2 separate regions of the Homo sapiens genome follow, and region 1 is linked to region 2. Evidence: promoter capture Hi-C in human tissues and cell types (Jung and others, 2019). All regions are on one chromosome and are shown on one strand. The core of a region is centred on a gene start or on the middle of the fragment in contact, and the rest is flanking DNA. Distances in the headings are between cores, read along the strand shown. Region 1 overlaps LOC107987243 (a long non-coding RNA gene). Region 2 holds the start of GJC1 (gap junction protein gamma 1).

Evidence for each region. The method cuts DNA at HindIII sites, captures the fragments that hold promoters and counts their contacts. A contact is called where the count stands out against the background at its distance.
Region 1: a fragment that was not itself captured here is called in contact with the fragment with the promoter of GJC1 in region 2 in 1 of the 25 tissues and cell types used here (spleen).

The regions. Positions count from the first base shown.
Region 1 is chr17:44,996,923-45,003,299 of GRCh38, reverse strand. LOC107987243 (a long non-coding RNA gene) reads left to right here. Exons shown (of 6, transcript XR_007065771.1): 3 at 5,043-5,088. Among named protein-coding and RNA genes, the nearest start is that of C1QL1, 32 kb to the right of the region's middle. RefSeq lists an enhancer at 5,128-5,880. The HindIII fragment of the contact is 4,011 bases long and covers 633-4,643 here.
Region 2 is chr17:44,828,913-44,834,848 of GRCh38, reverse strand. GJC1 (gap junction protein gamma 1) reads left to right here and starts at 4,562. Exons shown (of 3, transcript NM_005497.4): 1 at 4,562-4,787. RefSeq lists enhancers at 2,957-3,930, 3,931-4,904 and a silencer at 4,960-5,249. The HindIII fragment of the contact is 21,747 bases long and covers 1-5,936 here.

The sequences.
Region 1 (6,377 bases), core at 1,389-3,888, 170 kb before region 2:
GCAGGGAAAAAACACAGGAAAGCAAAACCAAAACCCTCCTGTGACTCCCAGGGTGTCATGGAAAGTGTGGTGTTCCACGGATTACATGGCCCCCATATCACTGGGCCCACCAGTTCACATTGCCTCTAGTTCTGGATCAGGCACCTTGTCTCAAATCACAGCTGAAAGACCTCCTCCGTCAGAAGGCCCTCTTGCTTTCTGTCCACCAGCACCATCTCTCTCTCTCTCTTTTTTTTTTTTTTGAGATGGAGTCTCATTCTGTCGCCCAGGCTGGAGGGCAGTGGCGTGGTCTCAGCTCACTGCAACCTCCGCCTCACGGGATCAAGCGATTCCTGTGTCTCAGCCTCCTGAGTAGCTGGGACTACAGGTGCGCACCACCAAACTCAGCTAATTTTTGTATTTTTAGGTAGAGACGGGGTTTCGCCATGTTGGCCAGGCTGGTCTCAAACTCCTGGCCTCAAATGATCCACCCGCCGCCTCAGCTTCCCTAAGTGCTGGGATTACAGGCATGAGCCACCGCACCCGGCCCACCAACACCATCTTTTCACTGCTGGGCAGTAACACTCTCTCCTGGTCAGCCACCCAGGTCCTGAAGACACTCTGTGCTGCTGCGTCTGTCTCCACGCAGGTGGGAAGAACGTGGGAGGCAAGCCGAGCACTATTTGTGCACTTCTTTTTATTTATTAATTTTTTTGAGACGGCCTCTCACTCTTTTGCCCAGGCCAGAGTGCAGTGGCACGATCTCAACTCACCGCAACCTCCATCTCCCGGGTTCAAGCAATTCTCCTGCGTCGGCCTCCTGAGTAGCTGAGATTACAGGCATCTGCCACCAGGCCCAGCTAATTTTTTTGTATTTTTAGTAGAGATGGGGTTTCTCCATGTTGGCTCGAACTCTTGATCTCAGGTGATCTGCCCACCTCAGCCTCCCAATATATGTCCACTTCTTATTTAATCTCTTCGACAGGGCCAAGAGGTACAGACTTTTTTTTTTTTTTTTTTTTTTTTGAGACGGAGTCTAGCTTTGTCACCCAGGCTGGCGTGTAGTGGCCCGATCTCGGCTCACTACAACCTCCACCTCCCTTGTTCAAGTGATTCTCTTGCCTCAGCCTCTCAGCCTCCCAAGTAGCTGGGATTACAGGCGTGTGCCACCACACGCGGCTAATTTTTGGTGAGACAGGGTTTCACCATGTTGGCCAGGCTGGTCTTGAACTTCTGACCTCAAGTGATCCACCCACCTCAGCCTCCCAAAGTGCTGGGATTACAGGTGTAAGCCACTGCACCCGGCTGGTACAAACTGTTATTACCCCCATTTAACACATAAGGAAACACACCTTAAGTCACTTGCCCAAAGTCATGGGGCAATGACATAGTGATTTTGGGATTTGAATCCCAGTAGGCTGACTCCAAAGCAAAGCACTTAACATCACGTTGGAGAATCTTGGGAAACCCCCGGGAGTTGTATATGGTGCAGTCCCCATCCTTGTTGAACTACCAAAGGTTGAAGGCCATGCCAGTCCTGCCCCATGACTTCCTCACATGACTCCAGTTCCATCAGCCAATCTTCTTACTAACATCCAGATAGCCTCGGACCCTCTGCCCCCATCCAGCCGACCCTGTCCCTCCCACCTGCCTTTCCATCTCTCTGAATCCAGGCCTTCACCTGGGCAGGCCCAGCTCAAGTCAGGCTTTCAGCTGGAAGCTTTTCCCCGCCTGCATCCCTAGCTCCATGGCCTGTCCCTCTCTGACCCAGTCTTTGTCCTTTCTGTGGATTTCCTGCCTCCTCAGCAAGTTCTGAGCCTCTCCATGCACAGCCAGGTGCCCTCTGAAGTCCTAGGACCCAGCTTTGCCCGGGCTTGTGCTCAGTAAATATTTGTGGACTTATCAACTGATTGATTGGTGAAGTGAAGACAGGAGACCTGGGACAAAGATGCCTGAGAACTCAGCAGTGTCCCTCTCAGCCTGGGCCCTGGGGAGGTGCTGGGGAGCCTGACACACACAGGTGAGGACTCCAGGCCCCAGCAGGTGTGAATGGCCAGGTGTTGGCACTCCCAGCTGCCTGCGGGTGACCCTGTCTCCCCAGGGTGGGAGGATTTGGGGATGTGTGGGGGGGAGAGGGAACTTGGGAAGTGAGTGCTTCAGGCTGCGCTGAAGTTCCCCTGGCCCCCAGGCTCTGCCCAGGCACCTAGGGCAGGAGGCAGACTCTAGGGTCTTCTCCAAGTTGAGATGTCTCTCCCCACTCCCTTTGCTGCTCCTGCTCCTCCCCTAGCCCCCACTGGAGAATCTGGGCCTGATAGAACTATTTTGGGCCAAACCTCTGAATTATGCATGGTCTGGCCAGTAAGCTGGCTCTTCCTGATCAGTGGCAGTGGGGGTTGGGGAGTAGAGTGATGGCTGCATTTCTCTTCCCGTGTAAGTGTCTGAGTTTGTGCAGGTGCCAGGCAGAGTGTGATGGGGTGGCATACATATGTTTGTGTAGACTTTGTGACTAAGGAATTGTGAATGTGCATGGGTCCACAAGTAGGAGCTATGGGGTCCCAGAGACTTTTTCCTTCTCTCTGAGGCTCCAGGATGGTGGGCCCCTGGGCTCAGTACCTTGTGGTTCCCAAATTTGTGTGTCTGGGCAGGATGGGCACAGGATGACTTAAGTCATCATCCTATTTCCATCCTGTCCCTGCCTTGCCTGCCCATGGGATCCTCAGGAGCTAGATGGACAGAAAAGAGATATCAACCTATCAGGGCCAGATCCAGGAGAGGGGAAAGAGAAGCCATTAACTGCCTGAAAATATTAGGTTGGTGTAAAAGTTATTGCAGTTTTTGTCATTGAAACTAATAGCAAATTACTTTTGCACCAGCCTAATAATAGCAGTAATGACCACTACGAGTTGAAGACCTCCTCTGGGTTTAGGTATTTTACATATATTAATTGAGTTAAATGTCACAACACTTCTATATGCTAGGTACTTTTAGACCCATTTTATTGATAAGGAAATGAAGGGTCAGAAAGACTAAGTACCTTGTTCAAGAGTGCACAACATGGAACTAATAGAATCAAGATTTTTTTTTCTTTCTTTTTTTTTTTTTGAGACAGTCTCACTCTTGTTACCCAGGCTGGAGTGCAGTGGTGCAATCTTGGCTCACTGCTAACTCTACCTCCCGGGCTCAAGTAATTCTACTCCTCAGCCTCCTGAGTAGTTGGGATTACAGGCATGTGCCACCATGCCCGGCTAACTTTTGTATTTTTAGTAGAGATGGGGTTTCACCATGTTGGGCCAGGCTGGTCTCGAACTCCTGACCTCAGATGATCCACCCACTTTGGCCTCCTAAATTGCTGGGATTACAGACATGAGCCACCATGCCCAGCCTAGAATCAAGATATAAACAACTAAGAAAATAAGGCAAGCCATATCCTGGGAGAAAATATTTGCAATACATATATCTGACAAAGAACTTGTATCCAGCAAACTCTTACAATTCAATAGGAAGAAGACAAACAATCCCATCGTAAAAGGGTCAAAAGAAGAGATAGGATGGCCAATATGTGCATGAAAAAAAATTCAGTATTATTCGTTATCAGGGAAATGCAAATTAAAACCACAATTACATACACTGCACAGCCATTGGAAGACTGACCATGGTAAGTGTTGATGAGCTTGTGGAGCAACTGGAACTCTCACATGCTGATAATGGAAATGTACAATGGTGCAACTACTTCAGAAAACAGTTTGTCAGTTTCTTGAAAAGTTAAGCATACAATAACCACAAGATTCGGTTATCCTACTCTCAGGTGTTTAACCAAGAAAAATGAAAATATATGTTTACTGAAAGACCTGTGTGTACACACATGCTCATGGTAGCTTCATTCACAGCAACTGAAACCCTGGAAACAAGACAAATGTCCATCAGCAAGTGGCCAGATTGTTGTATGTGCAAATAATGGGATACTTCTGAGCAACAAAAAGAATAAAGTACCACCATAAAAACAAGGATGAATCTCATCAACATTCTGCTCAGTTAAAGCAGCCAGAAACCAAGAGTACATATTACATAATTCCATTTATATGAAAATCCAGAAAAGACAAATCTAATCTATAGTGACAGAAAGCAGATCAGTGGTTGCCGGGGGCTGGGGGAAGGGTGGGGAACTACGGGGAAGAGGCACAGGGGAGCTTTTTGGGATGATGCAAATGCCCTATATCTTCATTGTAGTGGTAGTTATATGTGTCTATAAATTTGTCAAAACTCATCAAACTGAACACTTAAAATGTGTACATTTTATTGTATGTAAATTATACTTCAATAAAGTTGAAAAAAGAAACCAAGCAAGCTGAGCTGAACTCCACATTTGTAACTGTTATGCCCTGTGTGTCTCAAGGTAGTGGGAAGGGAGTCTTGGGCACCTGGGGCCCCTTTGAAGAAGAGAAAGCTTTACCATACATACAGGCAAGGCAACAAAGAGAGAGAGAGAGATCAAAGAAGAGAAAGGGTTGTGGTTCTTTGGAATTGACTACCCACCCCCAGTGGGAAGGAAGCATCCAGCTCCCCTCTGCCTTACTGGCCCCCACCACCCCAGGCTCTGTATGGCTTTCCCTCTAACCTGAGGGACTGAGCACCCATGGAAGTGTCTAGCCTCCTGCTGGGACCCCTCCCTGACCCCTCCTAAAGGCGACACCTTACAGCTTCCTCAACAGCATCATCCTGACTGGCAGATCAGGAACTCCTAGGGAGTCAATGTTTTGTTTCCCTCCACGAGGCCAAGCCTACCCCTGCTCATCCTCCTGGGAGCCTCTCCCGCTCATCATCCAGGGGACTAATATGGGCCTTGAGTGCAGCATGGGCACACTGCTCTAGGACAGGTTACCAAGCTTACCCACCCAGGGACCCTAAGGGTGTCCAGGAGGGGCTGGCTGGCCAGGCAGAAGGCCAGTGTGCTGGTGCTCCTGGCCCTTGGTCTCACTTGCTGCTGTCAATCACTGACGAATGCCTGTTAAGTGCTCGGCTTTGAGTTAAGCCCTATGCCTATGTTTCCTCTGTTAACCCTCCAGGCAGAGGCTCAACGAGGCCAGAGCTCTTCGTGCCATCATTTCACAGGTGAGGATGCTGAGGCACAGAGAAGGTAAGTAAAGTCACACAGCTAGCAGGTGGAAGGGAAGCTGACAGTAGCCAGTGCTTGCTGTTCATTTCCCAGCAATTCTTGCACCAGCTTCCCTTGAATCCCTTGGAGGGTTTTCTTAACAGTTCAGATTCCTGAGTCTGTGCTTTGTCCTTATCTCCTCTAGGCTCTCAGGGATCCATACCCTCTAGTCCCAGCTAAAGGATAAGCCCTGCCCCCTGCAGGGGCCTCTGGGCTGCGGCTCCCCTGGGCCAGCCCCAGTACTGAGCACTGGGCTCCGAGTGGATGGGCACAGTGCCAGTGCATCTGACTGAGTAGCATGGGCAGGGCTGAACTTGGTCAGGATCATCCAGGGTTGGGGGACCAGCAGGGAAATGAGATCTACAAATAGCAGCAAGTTGTTCATTGATTTCCATCCTGTTCAGAGGAGGCCTGGGACCAGCAAGAACAGGATTGGTTTTGAACTAAAGTGGGAAGGGCAGCTTAGTTTAGGGCAGGCAGGCAAAGTCAGGAAGCAGGATACCCAGGGCCCTGTGCCTCACGTAGGTACGAGGTCCTTGGCTGTGTCCTGTGGAAATGGTACCCCTCCTCTATCCACCTCTGGGGATGCACGTTCCTGGAAGATGGCCCCCAGCTCCACCTGGTATGACCTGCAAGTTAGGAAGGGCTGGGAAAATGCAAAAGTAAAAGGTTCCACTGCCAAAATTGCCTGCTTTTCTAAAATGGCCCATATTTCAAACATCTTGCCCTATCTCTCCCTTAAGCATACACAACCAATCATACCATATGCTCATATGTGGGGATCAGAAAAGAATCTTCATGCCTTAAAAGAGCATTTGAGGCCAGGCACGATGACTCACGCATGTAATCCCAGCACTTTGGGAGGCTGAGGCAGGTGGATCATTTGAGGTCAGCAGTTCAAGACCAGCCTGACTAACATCGTGAAACCCCGTCACTACTAGAAATATAAAAATTAACCAGGCATGGTGGTGTGTGCTTAGTCCCAGCTACTCGGGAGGCTGAGGCAGGAGAATCTCCTGAACCCAGGAGGCGGAGGCTGCAGTGAGCCGAGATCGCGCCACTGCACTCTAGCCTGGGTGACAAAGGGAGACTCCATCTCAAAACAATAAAACGTAAAAATAAAATAAAAGGGCATTTGAGAGGTCCCCTAACCACCACTCCTCCTCAGCTTCTTCCATATCCTGCTTGCTCCCTTGGCTCCTGCAAGTTGGTTCTGTTGCCCGTGTTCCCACCATCCCCTCTCTGT
Region 2 (5,936 bases), core at 3,313-5,812:
CAATCTCCACTCACTGTAACCTCCAACTCCCTGGTTCAAGCAATTCTCGTCTCAGCCTCCGGAGTAGCTGGGATTACAGGCATGCGCCACCACGCCCAGCTAATTTTTGTATTTTTAGTAGAGACGGGGTTTAGTGCTGGGATTACAGGCGTGAGCCACTGCACCTTACTACTTCTTTTTTTTTTTTTTTTGAGTTTTGCTCTTGTTGCCCCAAGCTGCAGTGCAATGGCATGATCTCAGCTCACTGCAACCTCTGCCTCCCAGGTTCAAGCAATTCTCCTGCCTCAGCCTCCTGAGTAGCTGGGATTACAGGCATGCGCCACCACACCCATCTAATTTTTTGTATTTTTAGTAGAAATGGGTTTTCACCATGTTAGCCAGGCTGGTCTTGAACTCCTGACCTTAGGTGATCTGCTCCCCTCGGCCTCCCAGAGTGCTGGGATTACAGGCGTGAGCCACCGCGCCTGGCCAACTGTCCCTACTTCTAACGGCATGGATTAGTTTTGCTTGTTTTTTTTTTTTGTTGTTGTTGTTTTGTTTTTTTTTAAACGCGGTCTTGCTCTGTAACCCAGGCTGGAGTGCAGTGGTGCAGTGGTTCAGTGGCACAATCACAGCTCACTGCAGCCTCAACTTCCCCAGCTCAAGTGATCTTCCCACCTCACCACCTCAGCCTCTGGAGTAGCTGAGACTCCAGGCACATGCAACCATGCCTGGCTAATTTTTGTATTTTTTGTAGAGGTAAGGTTTTGCCATGTTGCTAAGGCTGGTCTTGAACTACTGAGCTCAAGTGATCCGCCCACCTTGGCCTCCCTAAGCGCTGGGATAACAGGCATGAGCCACAGCACCTGGCCAGTTTTGTCTGTTTTTGAAGTTTTTGTAAATGAAAACTTTTGTGAGATCCATCTTATGTGTAAATGTAGATTGTTCATTTTCATTGCAGCATAATGTACGTAACACAATTTAGCCATTCTACGGTTGACAGGCATTTTGGGTAGTTTCTAGTTTTTTGACTTATTATAAATAGTGCTGCTATGAATACTCTAGTACAAGTATTTTGGTGAACATTTGTACACATTTTCGTGGAATTGCCATGGAATTCCAAAGGCATAGTGTATTCATAGGTTCAGCTTTAGTAGTGTAGTGGCGGAAAGGTGTGACACCTTTCCTCATCCATCATAAGGATCACAGCTGACACTCCTATAACAAAACCCAGATTAACAAGAGAAGGGCATAACCAAGTTATTTAACCAAAGTTTTATGTAACACAAGAGACTTCGGAAATTAAGACCTCAAAGGGCCGAGTGCGGTGGCTCACACCTGTAATCCCAGCACTTTGGGAGGCCTAGGCGGGTGGATCACGAGGTCAGGAGTTCAAGACCAGCCTCACCAACATAGTGAAAACCAGTCTCTACTAAAAATACAAAAAAAATTAGCCGGGCGTGGTGGTGTGCGCCTGTAGTCCCAGCTGCTTGGGAGGCTGAGGCATGAGAATCAGTTGAACCTGGGAGGCGGAGGTTGCAGTGAGCCGAGATCATGCCACTGCACTCCAGCCTGGGTGATGGAGAGAGACCCGGTCTCTCTCTCTCTCTCTCTCACACACACACACACACACACACACACACACCCTCAATACCCTAGAACAATTGTTTTTATGCTTAGGTTCAATGCAGAATGGACAAGCAGAATGTGATCAGACAAAAGGGGTATGATCTAATTTAACAGACTGAGCGGGGAACCCAACAAGGCTTGTCGGTTCAAATTCTTCTTGGCTTCCCAGTGTAACATTCCTTCCTCCAGGGTATTCCTTCCTGGTTCCTCTGGAATGAGGGTCTTCAAGGGGGAGGAGAGAAGGGGGAGAGTGACCTTTCTGGTTTTATGGCTTGCTTTGGGGGAGAGGGGTTCTAGTTTCTATGACCCGCCTTGGGGAAGAGGAATTTTTATTTCTATGACTCGCTTCAGGGGAGAAAGGGGCGGGAGACAGGAGGGCAGGAGAAGGTCAGAGAGAGACTTTGCTTCTGAGGCCTTCCAATCTCCTTTAGTTCAAAGCACTCAGCACGCCAAAGCTCCATACTTTGGGATATTGTTTTCTTTCTTTCTTTTTTAAAGAGATGGGGTCTCGCTCTGTCTTCCAGGCTGGAGTGTAGTGGCATAATCATAGCCCACTGCAGTTTCCTGAGTAGCTGGGACTACAGCCACCACGCCCTGGGAAATCATTTTCTGAGCCTCAACAGTAGATATTGCCAGTTTTGCAAAGTCCGCTGGGCACGGTGGCTCATGTCTGTAATCCCAGCTCTTTGGGAGGCCAAGGCGGGCAGATCACTTGAGGTCAGGATTTGAGACCAGCCTGGCCAACATGGTGAAACCCCCTTTCTACTAAAAATACAAAAATTAGCCAGGCATGATGGCGGGCACCTGTATTCCCAGCTACTCCGGAGGCTGAGGTAGTAGAATCTTTTGAACCTGGGAGGCGGACATCGCAGTGAGCCGAGATCACCCCACTGCACTCCAGCGTGGGCGACAGAGTGAGACTCTGTTGCAAAAACAACAACAAAGTGATTTAGGCCAGGCACGGTGGCTCATGCCTGTAATCCCAGCACTTTGGGAGGCCGAGGCAGGCGGATCACAAGGTCAGGAGATCGAGACCATCCTGGCCAACATGGTGAAACCCTGTCTCTACTAAAAATACAAAAATTAGTTGGGCGTGGTTGCGTGCGCCTGTAGTCCCAGCTACTCGGGAGGCTGAGGCAGGAGAATTGCTTGAACCGGGGAGGTGGAGCTTGCAGTGAGCCTAGATGGCGCCCACTGCACTCCAGCCTGGCGACAGAGTGAGACTCTCCCTCAAAACAAAACAAAACAAAAAAGTTATTTGTACTAGTTTACAGTTGCAGGCTGTGAGAATTTTAATATTTTATTCAACAGGTACAATGATGTTGTTTCCTGTGTTATTTTAGTTACATGCTATTTATTATTTCCAGGTATTTTCAGAGTTTTCACCCTGGTCATTTTATTTTTTTCACTTATTTTTTTGAGACAGGGTCTCACTCTGTCGCTCAGGCTGGAGTGCAGTGGCGCTATCTCAGCTTACTGCAGCCTTGACCTCCCGGGCTCAAGCGATCCTCCCACCTCATGCTTGGAGTAGCTAGGATCACAGGTGCGCGTCACCACACCCGGCTAATTTTTGTATTTTTTGTAGAGATGGGGGTTTTGCCATATTGTCCAGGCTGGTCTGGAACCCCAGGGCTCAAGCAATCCGCCTGCCTAGGCCTCCCAAAGTGCTGGAATTACAGGCGTGAGCCACCGCGCCCATCCCACACTTGTCATTTTAAATACATCTGTAGAGAGGCAATGTGATAAGGCGTGGGGACAGACTACAGCAATCACAGGGAGAAGTACTTAAATGCTCCGAGGCCAAGCAGGTCATGAAATGATTTAAGCAGCTGAGTGGGGACATTGCCTACCCGGACAAGGTGACTCAAGAGGAGCTGCCATGTGAAAAGAGAAGCTCAAAGTAAGCAGCTTTTGACTTTTTAGGGAGGCCAGAAATCTGGATTTTAATATTTTGGTAACTAATTCATATTTTTGGAAAACATACTGGCCACACAAAACTGGTCAGTGCATTAGATGCCTAGCCTTCAAGATTTCCACTCTGGGGCTACCCCTTAGGGCTTGGCTTTGGGTGGGGGAGTTTGACTTGCAGCAAGTAACCTCACTTGTTAGCGCTTAATTTCCCCTCTGGTCAAAAGGGCAAAATAATAAAAGCCTGTCCATCGGCATTCTGATGCTCAGATGAGATCATTCCAGAGGTCGCCCATCTCTTTACTGAGCCTTCCTTTATTACCCAAAGTCTTACTCTACTTAAAGCATTTGGAGAATTTTCGGTTTCCTACTGGGCATTTTAAAACTGGGGATTCCTATGCATGAAAATTTTTCCCAAGTCCTCTGAATGGGATCCTGCTGGGATGCAAAGAGTTAAGAGGAAATAGCCTATTAGGGTCTTGCTAATCCGAGAAGTTCAGGACCTGAAAAGTATCTAGAGCACTGCTAAGAGCCCCGACTCTAGCTAGATCCACGCAGGGCCCGCCAGATCCTCGAGGAATTGTAGAGCAGAACCTGGGAGGAGACATTAGCATCCCGTGCTACAATGGACCAAGGCCTCGGCGGAGCGCGCAGAAGACAACTCTGGGCCCGCTAAACCAACCCAGGATACCCAGGTAAGGCGAGAACCCACGGCGCCGTTAGCGGCCCGCTCAAACTGAGGCGCGGCTGGCGGGGGACTCTCGCCCGAAAATCAGCTTGGAAGAATGAACTGTCCGGAGCGAAGTCTGCGCCCACCCGGGGTCCAGACTCCACGCGGGTGACTCCCACGCGCGCCGCGCCTCCGCCGCGTCCCGGACTATCCGAGAGAGCGGCGAGGACTCGACCGCGGAAAGTTGGCGCTCGCGTCGCTTCCCGCGCGTTCTGGGGCGCCCCCCTCCCACTCGAGCGCCACGTGCCGCGCGCCCCCCGCTCCCGGGCCGCGGCGGGACGCCCCCGCCCCCACCGCAGCGCGCAGTGCGCAGGCGCCTTCCCGCGGGTCGCGGCGGCGGGAGCGGGAGGCGGCGGCGGCGGCGGCAGCGGCGGGAGCGGCTTCTGCCTCGGCTGGAGACTGAGGCGAAGGCGGCAGCGGCGGAGGAGGTGGAGGAGAGGCGAGGGTGAAGGCGATGGCGACGCGGGGCACATGAGGCCGCGACCGGCGGGACGGGCCGAGGCCCGGCGGAGGAGGCGGCTCCGGGGGAACCCGCCGCCGGGTGAGGGGCGGCCGCAGGGCCGGCTGAGGAGAAGCGGGCCAGGGGCGGGGTCCCAGGGGGAGGCGGGAGAACTCTTGGGGAGCCCGGGGAGGGGCCGAGGAGAACCTCCGGAGGTCCGGGGAGGAGCGCGGCCAGAGCGGGAGAAGGAGGGGGGCGCCGCCGAGGGGTTCCCGCCGAGTCCGGAGGGGCGTCGCCGGCCCGCGTCCTGCCACTGTCCCCGGCGCACCCTCCCTCTTTGTCCCCAGGCGCGCGGCTCCCAAATCGGGAGGGAAACGGCTCGGGGGTGTCCTGGGCCGCGGAGGTGTCGGGCGACGGTCGGGGAGCCCGGACAGAAGCGGCGCGCACTCGGCGGCGCCCCGGCGGTGCCGACAACTACCCGGGCGGTTAGGGGCGCAGGGCGGAGCCGGGCCGCCCCTCGCCGCCCGGGCTCTTCGCGGGCTGCTCTTTGTCTCCCCGACCTCGATCCCTGCGTCTCCGGCGGCGTGCGGGCTCGTCTGAGGCTTCCCGCATCTCCCCGCTGGAACTCCTGCCTCCCGGGGGTTAGAGGAGGGTTCGTTCGAGGGCTGGAAGCGGGAAAGCGGGGCGGAAGGACTGGGCTCATCGCCTCCTGATTAACTCGTTGTCTTTACTTAAAATGACTTTTCCCCCACTTTGTCAAACTTGAGAACTGTTTTGTGTGTGTGTGTGTTTCCTTAAGTCTCTAGCTTCAAAATTAAGAGTAGGCGCTACCGCTGTGATTGTGGGCAGTTGTGTGGTTGGCGGCTGCGTTTGGAGCTCTGAGTTGAAAAGATGTACGTGAATGTATGGTTTAGATTTTGTTCTTTTTTTTGCGATTGTCTGATTGGGAGTACTTTTCCTTTGCGAAATGGGCGAATTTGGTTTTCTTTTTGTTCATTGAGAACTGGCAGTGATACCGATTTCATTATGCTCATGCTTAATTTTGTTAGCATCAAGACGATGTGAAATCGAGTAAGTTAAGTTTGAATAAGTTCAGGCTGAGGGTCATCTTGTATGCCTGATAAGTCTAAATTTGTTATATGTTTGTGTCGTGTATACGTTCAAGTGAATATATGTGAAAGCGCTATAAAAAATCAAACTACATAAATGAAAGGGATTTTAATTTCCTGATAAGCAGGAAACAGCATATCT